2 separate regions of the Homo sapiens genome follow, and region 2 is linked to region 1. The links are contacts of gene promoters, found by promoter capture Hi-C in blood cells and fetal thymus (Javierre and others, 2016). All regions are on one chromosome and are shown on one strand. The core of a region is centred on a gene start or on the middle of the fragment in contact, and the rest is flanking DNA. Distances in the headings are between cores, read along the strand shown. Region 1 holds the start of NSMCE4A (NSE4A component of SMC5/6 complex). Region 2 overlaps WDR11 (WD repeat domain 11).

What was found. The method cuts DNA at HindIII sites, captures the fragments that hold promoters and counts their contacts. A CHiCAGO score of 5 or more calls a contact.
Region 2: a fragment that was not itself captured here is called in contact with the fragment with the promoter of NSMCE4A in region 1 in 1 of 17 cell types (total B cells); the score reaches 5.1 in total B cells.

What each region holds. Positions count from the first base shown.
Region 1 is chr10:121,972,409-121,980,066 of GRCh38, forward strand. It overlaps NSMCE4A (NSE4A component of SMC5/6 complex), which reads right to left and starts at 2,809. Exons shown (of 11, transcript NM_017615.3): 1 at 2,466-2,809; 2 at 1,596-1,673. The coding sequence starts at 2,757. LOC124902517 (a long non-coding RNA gene) reads left to right here and starts at 2,459. Exons shown (of 2, transcript XR_007062322.1): 1 at 2,459-3,747; 2 at 3,880-5,369. RefSeq lists a silencer at 2,211-3,010 and an enhancer at 2,448-3,243. The HindIII fragment of the contact is 9,349 bases long and covers 1-5,350 here.
Region 2 is chr10:120,879,256-120,886,913 of GRCh38, forward strand. It overlaps WDR11 (WD repeat domain 11), which reads left to right. Exons shown (of 29, transcript NM_018117.12): 13 at 1,571-1,646; 14 at 4,525-4,633; 15 at 6,559-6,683; 16 at 7,434-7,581. Among named protein-coding and RNA genes, the nearest start is that of WDR11, 32 kb to the left of the region's middle. The HindIII fragment of the contact is 1,289 bases long and covers 3,412-4,700 here.

The sequences.
Region 1 (7,658 bases), core at 1,559-4,058:
TATCTCCCATGAGTATCCTGTGCCTGCCTGCCCCACTCCCTTCCCCTTTCATTTATTTATTTATTTTACAAACTGAGACCATCAAATCCATGAATGCCAGCATCTGTTGTTTGCTGAGCAACTCCTAGGGCTCCAATGAGTGAATAATTTTGCTCTAAAATATTGCTTTAAATACTGGAAATAGCTGAGGGGGGAATGATGTGGGGATAAAGAACTGACTAGATGCACAGTAAATATCAAGGGAGTAATTGAGTCAAGTCAAGCAAGACTAACAGTAAGGAGACTGGGAGTCCAGGCTGCGAAGGGAAGACAAAACTTAAGAGGGTAGTAGAGGGATTTAACCAGGTGAAGGAGAAACACCCGGTTCCTGAAGGTTTTGATGAGAGTTAGCAAATGCGGTAGACTAAGATGGGGAATGGTAAGGAGGCTGTGGTCAAAGAAATTGGAGAGCATATATAAAGTGATAAAAGGAGACATTTAAAGAACTAGTCATCCTCAGCAATGACTAAAAATATACGTTCTAGTCCTTTAAGAATATGAGGAACCAGCCGGGGGCGGTGGCTCATGCCTGTAATCCCAGCACTGTGGGAGGCGGAGGCAGGTGGATTACCTGAGGTCAGGAGTTCGAGACCAGCCTGGCCAACATGGCGAAACCCGTCTCTACTAAAAATACAAAAATTAGCTGGGTGTGATGGAGCACACCTGTAATCCCAGCTACTCGGGACGCTGAGGTAGGAGAATTGCTTGAACCTGGGAGGTGGAGGTTGCAGTGAGCCGAGATTGTGCTACTGCACTCCAGCCTGGGCAACAGAGACTCCATCTCAAACCTCAAAAAAAAAAAAAAAAAGGATATATTTGGCTGCATTCTCCCCTATGTTCCCACAGACCCGTCAGAGAGGGCTGGAGGGGACAGTGGTCTGGGTAGTAGTCCTGTGGCTCTATGACCAAGTACCCACATCAGGGAGTACCCCTCTGTCACCAAGCAGACAGACAGCTGCTACCAATACCACTGCCTCTGCTTTCAATTCAAACTAAGGTTATTTTTTAAAGCACCCATGGCCTAGAGTTCAGTGCTCTGGGATCTCTCTCACTCACTCACTCACACACAACACACCCCAGACTGGAGACCAGCAGGTACACTTGCAGGCTTTGCCACCTCCATTGTGTTACACGTGGACCAATAGCAGGGAGCTGAGGAAGGCAAAACAGAATGGGACAGGAAAAGAAACAGGATTTCAGAGGCTAGCTCAGTTCTGTAATTCATCCACTCAACCAATGTATACTAGGGATACGGCAGTAAACACAAGAAAAAGAAACAAGATAACACATGTAACGTTCTCAAACTTGAAGAGGCAACAGAATCAACTGGGGGCTTAACACAGACTGCGGAACCTACCCCCAAATTTTCATGTAAAGCCCTTATTATATGGTAAGTGCATAATAAAAATGGCATTATTGCTATAATGAAACGGTTCCCGAACTGGGAAAGCACTATTACAAATGTGGGAATTGTTTTATGTCAATAATTTGGCGCTTATGTAACACTAATTAAAAGTATCATAAAACACGAAATAACATATAAAATAACAAATTACCTTCATTAAACAGAGTGTTAGCCTCTTCAAGGACCTCTGTTAATTTGTCACCGGCATTCAGTATGTCCTCACGGTTTTCTATTTTTAAAAATACAAACTTTGGGAAATTTGTTCAGCATTCACTAATAAGCAGTTGACAAGGTTATCACCTGCAACAGTAAAGCCAAGCCCCGGCCCCTGCGCTCTGAGTAATTACTTCGAACATCTTTATCTTTTTAACCAAAATGACCCGGAAAAGGAGAAAGGCCACCCTACCCTTTATGCAGCATGAATTTTAAAAGGAAACCCTAGCTCCCTCTAACCTTAACCCAAAGGGCTGGACTCCGGCTGCAGCCTCTGAGTGCTCCATAACTGAGTGGTTCTCAAACTTTGCAAGCAATACACACCATCACCTGGAGGGCCACTCCACAGTTGCGCGGACCCACCCAGAGATTCGAATTCCGCGGGTCCGGGTGGGGTCCGAGAACGTGCATTTGACAGCTCTCGCGTGCCGCTGCAGCTGCAGCTGCCGCTGCGAGGCCGGGAGCCCACGCCGAGGACTGCCGGGCGCAATCAAAGCACGCGGAGTCCGCGTCCTGCCTCTCCCCACTGGCTGGCTGGGCTCGGGCGAGTCCGCGAACGGCTCTGGCCTCCAGCTTTTCCAGCCCGCCACTCGGGGACCCGCGCCAAGGTCGTACGGCTCCAGCCACAAAGTGGGAGCACTTTGTCAACAATTTAAGGTGCGGCGAGGGGCTGGCACCCGGCGCGTCTCTACTAACGCCGCGCCGGGCCTCCGCCCGGCACCTGCCTCCGGTGCCCTCCCCCCGCGCCCGGCGCAGGGCGGGGACAGCGGCCCGTCCGGGCCCGCGCCGCCCGGAGGCGCCGCCTTACGTTGGACGGAGTTGATGAGCGCCCGGTACTGATGGCGGATCTGGCGGCACAGGCCTTGGTCGGCCTCCGCCTCCAAGCTGGCCGGGTCCATCATCTCGTCCCCGGAATCCGACGGCTCTGTGTCCTCCAGGCTCGGGCGCTCTGGGGCCTCTCTGCGCTCCCGCGCAGAGCCGCGGCGGGACCTGGGCGACAAAGGGGACCGCGAGCGGGAGCGGGAGCGGGTGCGATCCCGATGCGGGTCGCGGCCCCGGCCCCGGCCCTCTGGCCCGCGGCCGCTGCTGTCCCCAGACATAGCGCCAATTCACCGTGCAACTTCGGAACGGCGGAAGTTCGCGCCAGAAACTGAAACCCCTGCTCTGCGCCAGCGCCTGCTCCCGGCGGAACGCGGCTCCCGGGCCCGCGCGAGCGCACAGCGACGCCTGTGGCTGGAGGCCGGCGACGGGCCCGGCCGGGTCTCCAAGGCGCCTGGGGGGACCGCTGGGTGCACAAGAGGGGCCTGGCGGGGATCCTTTGTTCCCTTGACAAGAGGTGTAATGAGCTCTTACTCCACACTGCAGGGCTGTGAGAATCTTGGTTTTCTGCCCCTACTTTCCCACCCTCCTGGACCTGCATCTTCCCTAGGTCCCTTTGCCTGCCCAGGACACAGCCGCAGCCTGGCACCCACATGGGCACGCAGTCCATGTGTGTTGAACGAGCTTCCTGCTGTGGAGCAGGATGAGCGCGGGATGTGGAGTCCAGACGCGGTCTGCTGCTCACCTGCGACCTCAGTTTCCCTGTGCCATCATGGCTGGGGTCGGGGGGGTGGGGAACAGGGGTGGGTGGATGAATCAAATATTTATGTGCAGCTGGCAATACCATTTTTTGTGAGGATAGCAGAACAAATTAACAGGTAAACATCCTTCTAAATATCTACAACAGAATGTCACCAGAGCACCAGGGTTTTGTTCTAGGACCCGCTGCCCCCTCACAGAAATCACTGAGAAAACCATTATTACCAAGGAAGAAGGCTTTAGTAGGGTGCTGCACTCAGGGAGTTGGAAGCTCAGTCTCAAATCCATTGCCCTGACCAACTAAAATTAAGGGTTTATACAGTTGCAGGGAAGCAATGTAACAATGTATGGGAAAAGAGGAACTCGGGAGGGGGAAGGAAGCTATGGGGATGCATGAGGGGCTTGGCATCTCATTGTCTGGAATGCGGTGATATGGCGAGTTTCAGTTTTTTGATACTTTTTGAGAGGCTCTGGAGGTCCTTTCCTGAGGAAGGAACTCAGATAAAACAAAGGTAAGTTTCAACCTTAAGACTAGAAATGATAATTTCTAAGTTTATTAAAAAAATAGTAAACAGTCTATGGGATTGTTGGGTTGATTTTAATGACAGTCTATGTTCACATTTGATTTTTTTTTTTTTTTTAAGACCTTGCTCTGCCGAGGCTGGAGTACAGTGGCACTATCTTGGCTCACTGCAACCCCATCTCCTGACCTCAAGTGATCCGCCCACCTCGGCCTCCCTAAGTACTGGGATTACAAGCATGGGCCACCAGGCACAGCCTGATTCTGATTCTCAAACTAGAAGATTCTAAGAATACCTCCTGAAGGGCCCAAGAAAGATGGAATTATGTTAAGTATACTTTGAAAGATAAATGTATGAATTTCACTCCGTGCATTTTGGATTGTATTCGAGTATTGTTTCCCAAAAGTTGTCTTTGGTGCTAAGAACACATTTTCTCAAAAGACCAATATTATAAGTTGGGTTATTACACAACCTACAAATATTCCATTTTGTGCATCATGTCTACTAAACTTAAGTTAGGCACTGTTCATTGCTGTCCAACAGCTACTACCTCACCCATCCCTGCTTATCTGTATTTCCTGAAGGGGACGTGTGTGCCTACTTCCTTAGATGAAACGTGATCACTCTAACCAGGTCACGGTAATGTCATTCCCCTTCCCCAGTGACTGGTCAAGGGTCATGTGATGCAACCTGGGTCCGTGAGATGTGAAAGGGTTTCCCAACTGGATGGAATACAAACCTTCCTGAAAAGAAAACCCTTGACCCCCTACCCCCTTTGAGATGGCTGGCATAAGAAATGGGGAACCTGCCAATTAGCGGGCATAATGGTGCGTGTCTGTAATCCCAGCTAATCGGGAGGCTGAGGCAAGAGAACTGCTTGAAGCTGGGAGGTGGAGGTTGCAGTGAGCAGAGATCGCGCCATTGCACTCCAGCCTGGGTGACAAGAATGAAACAACGTCTGAAAGAAAAAATGTGGAGCCTGCCATATTGGCAGCATCTGGTACTCACGAGGTGACAAGCATGAGGAAAGACTAGAGTGCTGGAGACACTGGAGAGCAAAGATGGACATGGCTGAATTGCTGAATCAACCACATGCCTCCAGACTCCCTGTAAAGTAAGCCATAAATCATGGTTTAAACCAGGTCATTGTTTCATAGTTGTTGCTTGTAGCTCAGTGTTCTGTAATGGAATACTTAGCGTTCTTCCAGGTGAAAGTGTGTCCAGAATTGGTGGGTTCTTGGTCTCACTGACTTCAGGAATGAAGCCGCGGACCCTCGCAGTGAGTGTTACAGTTCTTAAAGGTGATGTGTCCGGAGTTTTTTCCTTATGATGTTCAGATGTGTTCGCAGTTTCTTCTTTCTGGTGGGTTCGTGGTCTCACTCGCTCAGGAGTGAAGCTGCAGACCTTCACGGTGAGTGTTACAGCTCTTAATGCGGCGTGTCTGGAGTTGTTCGTTCCTCCCGGTGGGTTTGTGGTATTGCTGGCCTCAGAAATGAAGCTGCAGACCTTCACAGTGAGTGTTACAACTCATAAAAGCAGTGCAGACCCAAAGCGTGAACAGCAGCAAGATTTATTGCAAAGAGCGAAAAAATAAAGCTTCCACAGTGTGCAAAGTGAGCTGAGTGGGTTACTACTACTGGCTAGGGCAGCCTGCTTTTATTCTCTTATCTGGCCCCACCCACATCCTGCTGATTGGTCAATTTTACAGAGAGCCGATGGGTCTGTTTTACAGAGAGCTGATTGGTCCATTTTGACAGGGTGCTGATTGGTGCGTTTACAATCCCTGAGCTAGACACAAAAGTTCTCCACCTGTCCACTAGATTAGCTAGATACAGAGTGCTGATTGGTGTATTTACAAACCCTGAGCTAGACACAGAGTGCTGATTGGTGCATTTACAAACCTTGAGCTAGATACAGAGTGCCGATTGGTGTATTTACAATCCCTTAGCTAGACATAAACGTTCGCCAAGTCCCCACCAAATCAGCTAGACACAGAGCGCAGATTGGTGCATTTACAAACCTTGAGCTAGACACAGAGTGCTGATTGGTGCATTTACAAAGCTTGAGCTAGATACAGAGTGCTGATTGGTGTATTCACAATCTCTTAGCTAGACATAAAGGTTCTCCAAGTCCCCGCTAGACTCAGGAGCCCAGCTGGCTTCACCCAGTGGATCCCGCACCAGGGTGGCTGGTGGAGCTGCCTGCCAGTCCCTCGCCCTGCACCCCACTTCTCAGCCTTTGGGCAGTTGATGGGATCGGGCACCCTGGAGCAGGGGGCGGCGCTCATCGGGGAGGCTCGGGCCACGCTGGAGCCCACGGTGGCAGGGGGAGGCTCAGGCATGGCGGGTTGCAGGTCCTGAGTCCTGCCCTGCGGGGAGGCAGCTAAGGCCCGCCGAGAAATGGAGCACAGCGCTGGTGGGCTGGCACTGTTGGGGGACCCCGCGAACCCACCACAGCTGCGGGCCCAGGTGCTAAGCCCCTCACTGCCCAGGGCAGCCGGCCACTCCCGAGTGCGGGCCTGCCAAGCCCACGCCCACAGGGAACTCTAGCTGGCCCGCAAGCACAGCGTGCAGCCCCGGTTCCCCCCGTGCCTCTCCCTCCACACCTCCCCGCAGGCTGAGAGAGCCGGCTCTGGCCTCGGTCCCAGGAAGTGGCTCCCACAGCGCAGCGGCGGGCTGAAGGGCTCCTTAAGCCGGCCAGAGTGGGCGCTGAGGCCGAGGAGGTGCCAAGAGCGAGCGAGGGCTGCCAGCACGCTGTCACCTCTCAAAAGTTCATTCCAAGCTCCACACAAAAATACCTGAAATAGGCCAGGTGCAGTGGCTCACGCCTGTAATCCCTGCACTGTGGGAGGCCAAGGTGGGTGGATCACCCAAGGTCAGGAGTTCAAGACCAGCCTGGCCAACATGATGAAACCCCCGTCTGTACTAAAAATACGAAAAATTAGCCAGGCGTGGTGGTGGGCGCCTGTAATCCCAGCTACTCAGGAGGCTAAGGCAGGAGAATCACTTGAACCTGGGAGGCGAAGTTTGCAGTGAGCCGAGATCATGCCACTGCACTCCAGCCTGGGTGACAGGAGCAAAACTCCATCTCAAAAAACAAACAATGACAACAACAACAAAAAAACCCTGAAATAACTCATTCAATTCAAAAGTATTTGAGGGAGGGCCGGGCGCGGTGACTCATGCCTGTAATCCCAGCACTTTGGGAGGCCGAGGAGGGTGGATCATGAGGTCAAGAGATCGAGACCATCCTGGCCAACATGGTGAAACCCCATCTCTACTAAAAATACAAAAAATTAGCTGGGCATGGTGACGTGCGCCTGTAGTCTCAGCTACTCAGGAGGCTGAGGCAGGAGAATTGCTTGAACCGGGGAGGCGGAGGTTGCAGTGAGCCAAGATGGTGCACCACTGCACTCCAGCCTGGTGACAGAGTGAGACTCCATCTCTAAATAAATAAATAAATAAAAATATTTGAGGTGTACTCATAGGCTAGACACCCTACAAAGCACAGCAGGGCACACAGATAATTCAGGTACTTGCCTTTGCCTTCCAGGGTATCACCAGAAGACAGGCATTAAACTGATTCTAAAATTCATGTGGGGAGCCAGGTGTGGTGGCTCATACCTGTAATCCCTGCACTTTGGGAGGCCAAGGCAGGTGGATCACTAGAGGCCAGGAGTTTGACACTAACTTGGACAACAAAGCAAGACCCTGTCTCTACAAAGTATATATAAATCAACATTAGCCAGGCATGGTGGTGCACACCTACAGTCCCACTGACTCAGGAGGTAGAAACAGGATGATCGCTTGAGCCCAGGAATTTGATGCTGCAGTGAGCTATGATCATGCCACTGCACTCCAGCATGGATGACAGAGCAAGACCTTGTTTAAAAAAAAAAAAAA
Region 2 (7,658 bases), core at 2,806-5,305, 1.1 Mb before region 1:
TTTTATGTTCTCCATATGTATTTTCAAGCTCTCAAAGATCCAGTTGTTCTTACTTCTCAGGGTATGTTGCTGAACTTCCAGGAATCATTCCCGTCTTTAGTCCAGTGTTGCTGCTCTAGTCTCATTGGAAGTGACCTGTCCACTGACTCTCATCCCCAAGTTCCTAATTTGCCAGCAGAATGGTACTGGCCCTGTGTCTAGTGATCCCAGGGATAAAATGCTGTTGTCTAGTATCATTGACTTAAAAAAAAGAAAAAAAATCCCTGTTTTATTTGTTTTGGTCAGCTCAAGTTCAGGACTGTTAGATAACTTAAAATCTGCTTTGCACAGATGTATTTTTAAGGAACAAACATCTACAGTAACAGTTACAGATTTCCTTAAGTGGGATATTTGAGTTCATAGATGGTAGACTTTTATAGCCTGGGCTTCTAAGGAGGGCAGCAGACTAGTGCAGTCAGGACAGGACATGGGCTGTTTGGGGTATAATAATAGTGAGTATAGTGAGATTCCACATGATGGAATCTCAACAAAGAGTAGGAAGGCGTTTAGGCCTTCAGTTGTCCTTGAATTGAGTATGTTCTCTCTTTTGTTTAATGTAGATAAAAATCTAACACAAGATACTAAAACATACAAGGTAGAATTTATACTTTTTTTATTCACAGAAAATCATGTAACTTCCTTTGCGGGTAACTCATTCTTTCACAGCATACATGAACACCGTAGTTATTCCCTAGTTTCCAGTTTATAAAGATGTTTTGAGAGGAACATGTTCAAAATATTTAACTAGTATTTTGCACATGGGACAAGAAGATCTTAAATACATGTTTCAAGAGTTTTTCCCCCACTAGTTAGTATTTGGAAACATGGGAATGTTTGTATTAAATATTACTTTAAATAAGTAGTTTTCGCACCAGACAATTGCTGTACCATAAATATCTTAAAACTTAACATTGTTTTTTTAAATTTCTAAAATTGAATTATAGAATTCAAGAAACTGTGTGACAAATGAAAATGCCTTTTTACAAAATAAATATCTGAATATGTGATATATTATTGATCATTAGTTTGTAACACTTTTAAGAATATTCTTTGAACTTACATTATTAGAAACAGCTTAGAAGGAACTGGGCGCCGTGGCTCACACCTGTAATCCCAGTGCTTTGGGAGGCTGAGGCAGATGGATCACTAGAGGTTAGGAGATCGAGACCAGCCTGGCCAACATGGTGAAACCCCATCTCTACTAGGAGTACAAAAATGAGCTGGCGTGGTGGCGAGCGCCTGTAATCCCAGCTACTCGGGATGCTAAGGCAAGAAAATCACTTGAACCTGGGAGGCGGAGGTTGCAGTGAGCCAAGATTGCGCCATTGCACTCCAGCCTGGGTAACAAAGTGAGACCATCTCAAAAAAAAAAACCCGAAAAAACAGAAACAGATTAGAAGCAAATGGAAGAATGAATAGGAGAACAGAGGGTAGGATGGGTAGGACTGATCAAATTACATTGGCGTGGCTTCTTGTTTTTCATACATGTTTTATGCACTGTTCTCACTTTTTTAAATATTTGCAATTAAAGGTAGGAGCATTGCTTTTCGTGGTGAAAGAGGCAATGATGAATCTGCCATCGAAATGATTAAAGTATCTCATTTGAAGTAAGTGTCAACCTAAAAAAAAATCTATGGTGTTATCACAATGAAATCTCGTGGATTTTTTTAATCTTTAAGAAAATGGGAATGTGCTGGAATGCATATGGAATCTTTTTAGTGATAGCAAATGGTGATATGCAGCCCAAAGAAAATATTTTGATTACAAAATTAAGTTGCTATCACTTTTAATTCTCTACTTCTAAAAAGATGAAGTAACTTTTGCATGAATCGTTATTTACTTTCGGATAAAGTTCTTATGTACTTCTATCTAAGCATGGAGTTACTGAGTGAAAGAACTCATTTTCTTTATGTATAATTTAAACTCATTTTGCTTCCAGAAATTGAGTTTTTTTGTTTCAGGGGAAAATAACATGTAAAGCAGTATTATTAAAAATAGAAACTGAATGAAAATCAATCAAAATTACAAAGAAAGAGTAAGCTTTCTAAAGTAGTTTTCAAACTTGTTTTGGCTTTTCTAAGATCTTTGCATTTCCATATAAATTTTAGAATCAGACTATCAGTTTTATCAAAAAATCTTCCTGAGATTTTGATTGGGATTGCATTGAACCCATCAATCAGTGAGGGGAAGAATTGGTATCTTAACAAGTTTTGTAACTCATGAACATGGTATGTCTCTCCACTTATTTAGGTCTTTTAAAATTTCAGCAATATTTTGTAGTTTTCAGTGTGTAAGTCTTACATATTATTTGTTTATTTTGTGTTTTCTTTGATGCTTTTATAAATGACATTTTTAAATTTCAATTATTTATTATTTGTATATTAAAATACAGTTAATTTTCTGATATTGACCTTGTGCCTTGTGACCATGCTAAGCTTAGTTATTACTTCTAGTATAGGTGCTTTTGTTAATTCTTTAGGATTTTCTATAGAGACAGTCTCGTTTGCTAGTAAAGACATCTTTACATCTTTTCGATCTATAGGCCTTCTTTTTGCTTGCACTAATTAGGACCTCCTGTATAGTGTTGATTAGAACTGAGATGTCAGCTACGAGCTGACATCTTTGCTCTGATCCTGGACCTTATGGAGAAAGCATTCAGTCTTTCAACATTAAGTATGATACTAGCTGTAGATTTTTTGTATATTTCCTTTATCAAGTTGAAAAAGTTTTATTCCTAGTTTGCTGAGCCTTTGTATTATGAGTAGGTGTTGAATTTATCAAATGCTTTTTCTGTATTCATTGATATCATCATATGGTGTGTGTGTGTTATTTTGTTTTTCTTTTTGAAGTTCACTAATATGGTGAATTACATTGATTGATTTTCAGATGTTAAGCCAACATGACATTCCCGGAATAAACTCTAGTTGGTCGTGATGTATTACTGTTTTGACATATTGCTGGATTTGATTTATTGATATATTATTAAGAGTTTTATGATATATTATTAAGAGTTTTTATATCTATGTTCATGAAGGATATTGGTGTCGTTTTTATGTAATATCCTTTGTTTTGGTATCAGGGTAATACTGACCTTGCAGAACGTGTTGTAAAGTATTCTCTCTCCTTTTTTTTTGAATGAGTTTGTGTAGAATTGATATTATTCTTACTAAATGGGAAAAATTTATTAGGAAACCCATCTGAACCTAAAATTTTCTTTGTGGCAAAGTTTTTAAATACAAATTCAGTTTTGTTTTTTTTTTTCATAAATATAGGACTATTTAGATTCTCTTTTTTTGAGCTTTGGTAATTGGTGTCTTCCAAGTAATCTGTCCATTTTGTTGAAGTTGCTGAGTTTATTAATTTATTGAAATAAGCTTGTTCATCATGGATCTATGATCAGTGATTATCTTTCCCACTCCTAATATCAGTAAATTATATCAACCAATTTTATTTATTGATCTTTTCCAAGAAACTACTTTTGATTCATTTGATTCTTCTCTATGATTTTTCCATTTTCAATTTCATTGTCTGTCATGCTTATCTTTTGTTCTTCTGCTTACTTTTTAAATATGCTCTCCTTTTTTTACATAGTTTTCTAAAATAGAAACTTAGATAATTGAATTAAGTTGATTCTCTAAAATGTAATGTAAACAGTTAATGCTATATGAGCACCAGTTTTCCTGTATCCTACAATTTTTGTTATGGTTATATGTTTTCATTTTAATTCACATTATAATCTTTAAAAATTTCCATGGGGTGTTATTCAGAGGTATATTTTTTAACTTCAAACTATTTGGGTGTTTTGCCAGGTATCTTTCTGTAAATTTCTACTTTCTGTTGGGGTCACACATGGTCCTGAGTGGAAGAATCTCAGTCCTTTGATACAGGGAGTACAGGGATCTTCCTACTCTGTCACATTTCCTCTATGTCAGCCATCATTTGCTGATAATATTTTAGTTCCTCATAATGCTTATTGAGTAATCAGTGCTCAAATTATATTTGTTGAATTGCACTCGTTGATGTCATTCAGTACTTCTTTCAGGCTTAACAGAAAGTGAATAAAGTGGCATTTGTTGAATACCAACTGTAGTAGAATGATAGAAACTTTACATACTTTTTCATTGAATGTTTACCATAATCTGTATATCAATTAATTGAGGTACATGATGAGATTCTCCTGTCATGTGTGAGAAGTTGAGCCTCAGGAGGGTTAACATAAGTTGTGGCATCAGGGTTTGAATCTATGCCACTCTTTCTTCCAAGTTGGACTCCTTGCCTAATTGTGTGAGACTGTATGTTCTCTTACAGGTCACTTAGAGCTTTACCTTCTTATGACTGTTAATCATGGTGCTAAATGGTAGTTTAAATTGTCTATATTTAGAATGCGTCAGCTGAGTTTTTCAATTTACTGAACTTTTTATTTGCTCTAATTCATGGTGAAATTTTTGCAAAAAGGGGCTTATTTAGTAATTTTGTTTATTTTAGGCAGTATTTGGCAGTCGTATTCAGAGATAAACCCCTGGAGCTATGGGATGTTAGGACTTGTACCCTTCTTAGAGAGATGTCCAAAAACTTCCCTACAATAACTGCTTTGGTAAGTTACAATTTAAGAATTTAATAGCTTATTTAGGTATATATGTATGTGGTGAATGTTTTGCTTAAGCTTGAATCAAAATCATTACTGCCAATGTCATTTTTTTGGTTAAAAATGTGTGTTCAGAGAAGATGATCTAAATAAATGGAGATAATTCTTATTTTCTTGGATAAATCAACCTAATATCATATTAGTGCAATTCCAATTCAAGTTTCATTTGGATATTTTGAGGAATATGGTAAACATATTCAAAAATGTTTATGAAAGAATAAAGGTCCTAAATAGCTAAGTCATCCTTGAATAAAGAGGAGTAAATGTGGGAGGTGTGGGTGGGGTTGGCCCTTCCTACCTGATATTAGTACATCTTACAAAACCATGGAAATAAAATCAGTATTGTATTGGCACAAGAATAGAAAGTGAGTCAACCTAATAAAGAGCTCAGGAACAGACCCATGAATATTTGGGGACTTAATATACAGTAAAGTAGCACAAATCAAAGAGGATGGACAGACTGTGTAGTAGACGGTGTTGGGAAAACTGTCTCACTTTATGGAGAAAAATACTTGATCTCTACTTAATACCGTATAGAGAAGTGAGTGTCACAGGACTAAAGACCTAAATGTAAAAATGTAAAGCTATAAAATTGAATATAACAAAATACAAAATATTGCTGTGACCTAGAGGCAGGAGGAGACATCAGAAGCTCAAACCAAAAGGCAAAAAAAAAAAAGAAACAATGCATTTAATTAATCAAGATTAATGCTTTTTGTTTGATGAAGATGTCAAAGTTAAATACAGAAGACATTTTGGGAAAACAAATTTTCCAGTGTCTAAATTTAACTAGAAACTCCTGCAAGTCAACAGTGAAAAAAAGCGGGAACCCTAGTGAGAAAATGAACAAAGTCTGTGAAGAGCTAATGAGAGGCAGAGAAACCTAAAAGGCCAACAAGCCATATAAAGGAATGTTCAAACTCATCAGTTTTCAGAGATGTTCAAACCATGATATGGATCTACCGTTTAGACTAACAAAAACTGGACAGCCATATAGTGTTAAGTACGGGTGGAACATAGGGTATGGGAATCCTTGTGCATTGCTGGTAGGAATGTAGACCAATGCAGCCATTCTGTAAAGCACGCTGGCAGCACTTGGGCAAACACAGACATCTTCTGTGTCCGCTGAGCTCTTGGTCGTAAATGAACTTTTGCAAGGATATTGACTGGTGTGTTTTGTCATGATGTGAGTTTGGAGACCATCTGTGTGTTTTTACTGAGAGAGGAGACAGATTAACAATTGGCTGATGCACCCATGGAGTATTACGTAGCATGCAGAAACAGGAGGAAGAGGACTTAAATACAGTGGAAAGAGTAAGAAACAGGATGAAGTATATATATATATATACACACACACACACACACACACACATATAAACACAATACTATTTAGGTAAATTAGATAATAACTACATGTTAAGAACTTATACATATGCGAGGATATTGGACTAAAAGGCTTTACAATAGGTGGAATATAAAAGAATATATAAATAAAACAAGTGATTTTGGAGGAATCTATGGATGATAAAGGACCCTGGTTCGAGAACTGTGATTGTCTTATCGTGTGCACATAAGAGATGGGGGAGGAGACGAGGAATAGGCAATACTATCATTGAATTCATTATTTTCATTTTGTAAGTATTTTATAAAAACATCAAAAGGTCAGACCTTTTGGAAGTTTGCCATAAAAGCTCCAATTAAAATGCATTCATTTAGCCTTTCTCTAAGTAGGTAAAATCTAAAGAACAAATGTGGATTCATGTGTAGTAATAATAAATGATACTGGGCAGTGGTGTGTGTGCCCAGCTCTTCTGGACGATTCTTTGACAGAAGGAAACCTAGCACTTCTAGGTTTGTCTGCATTTGCTTTACAGGAGTGGTCACCATCTCACAACTTGAAGAGCCTGAGAAAGAAGCAACTTGCAACTCGAGAGGCCATGGCCCGCCAGACCGTAGTCTCAGACACAGAGCTGAGTATTGTTGAATCATCTGTGATCAGGTACAGTACAGTGTTTCTTGACACTGTCATTTGTGCCATTAGCATCATGTCTGGGAAGTTGACAAGTATCATCGGAAGGTGTCTATGGTAGCAAGTTGGACTCTGCTTTTGAACATACTTAGTTTCATCTTTCAGTACATACCCAGATTACTAAAAAGATAATTTTATCATTTTTAGTATTGTACTATACTGTTTGTTATAACTAATAACATATGCAGTAATATTCACCCATCAGCATCTAGTAGTAAATGTGCTCATTCCGAGTGCCCTTCTACTCCATACACTTCAGCTTCTGAAATTCAAATGAACATAGCATAGACATACAGATAGATCATATTATCATTTATACACACCAAAGAAAATGTGTTGGGAATCCTAAATTTGTGTATCATCCCCATCCATACCAATCTTACAGATAAAAGGCTTCAGAGATAATGTTGGGTCACTGTACAGCCTCCCTTCTGTTGAGCACAGTTCTATAGCCAAAATCTCTATGAATTTTATTTTTCTTGTGTTAAGTTTAGATCACCATTTCTCTCTGTGCAGGGTAAACTTCCTCTGATGTTGTGGCTGTTAAGGAGTGATTCATGTTTACCCATAATTAGCTGGGCAAATATTAGTTTCAGACTTTTAAAAAAATAGTTTTGGACCTCCTCTTAATGCGTCTGTACTTTGGGCAAGTTAATTAATTATGAGTATCACTCTAGGGGAAAAAAAAACATCTTTATCATATGTTTCACTATCCCAAAGCTTGCTGCAGGAGGCAGAAAGTAAATCTGAACTTAGTCAGAACATCTCTGCCCGGGAACATTTTGTATTTACCGATATTGATGGCCAAGTGTATCATCTCACTGTTGAAGGAAACTCAGTAAAAGACAGTGCTCGGATTCCACCAGATGTGAGTACAACCTTGATTAAATCTTCATCAAGAAGATTTTGTTTTGTTGGTTCCATATCCAGTGAAGGCATAGTTAA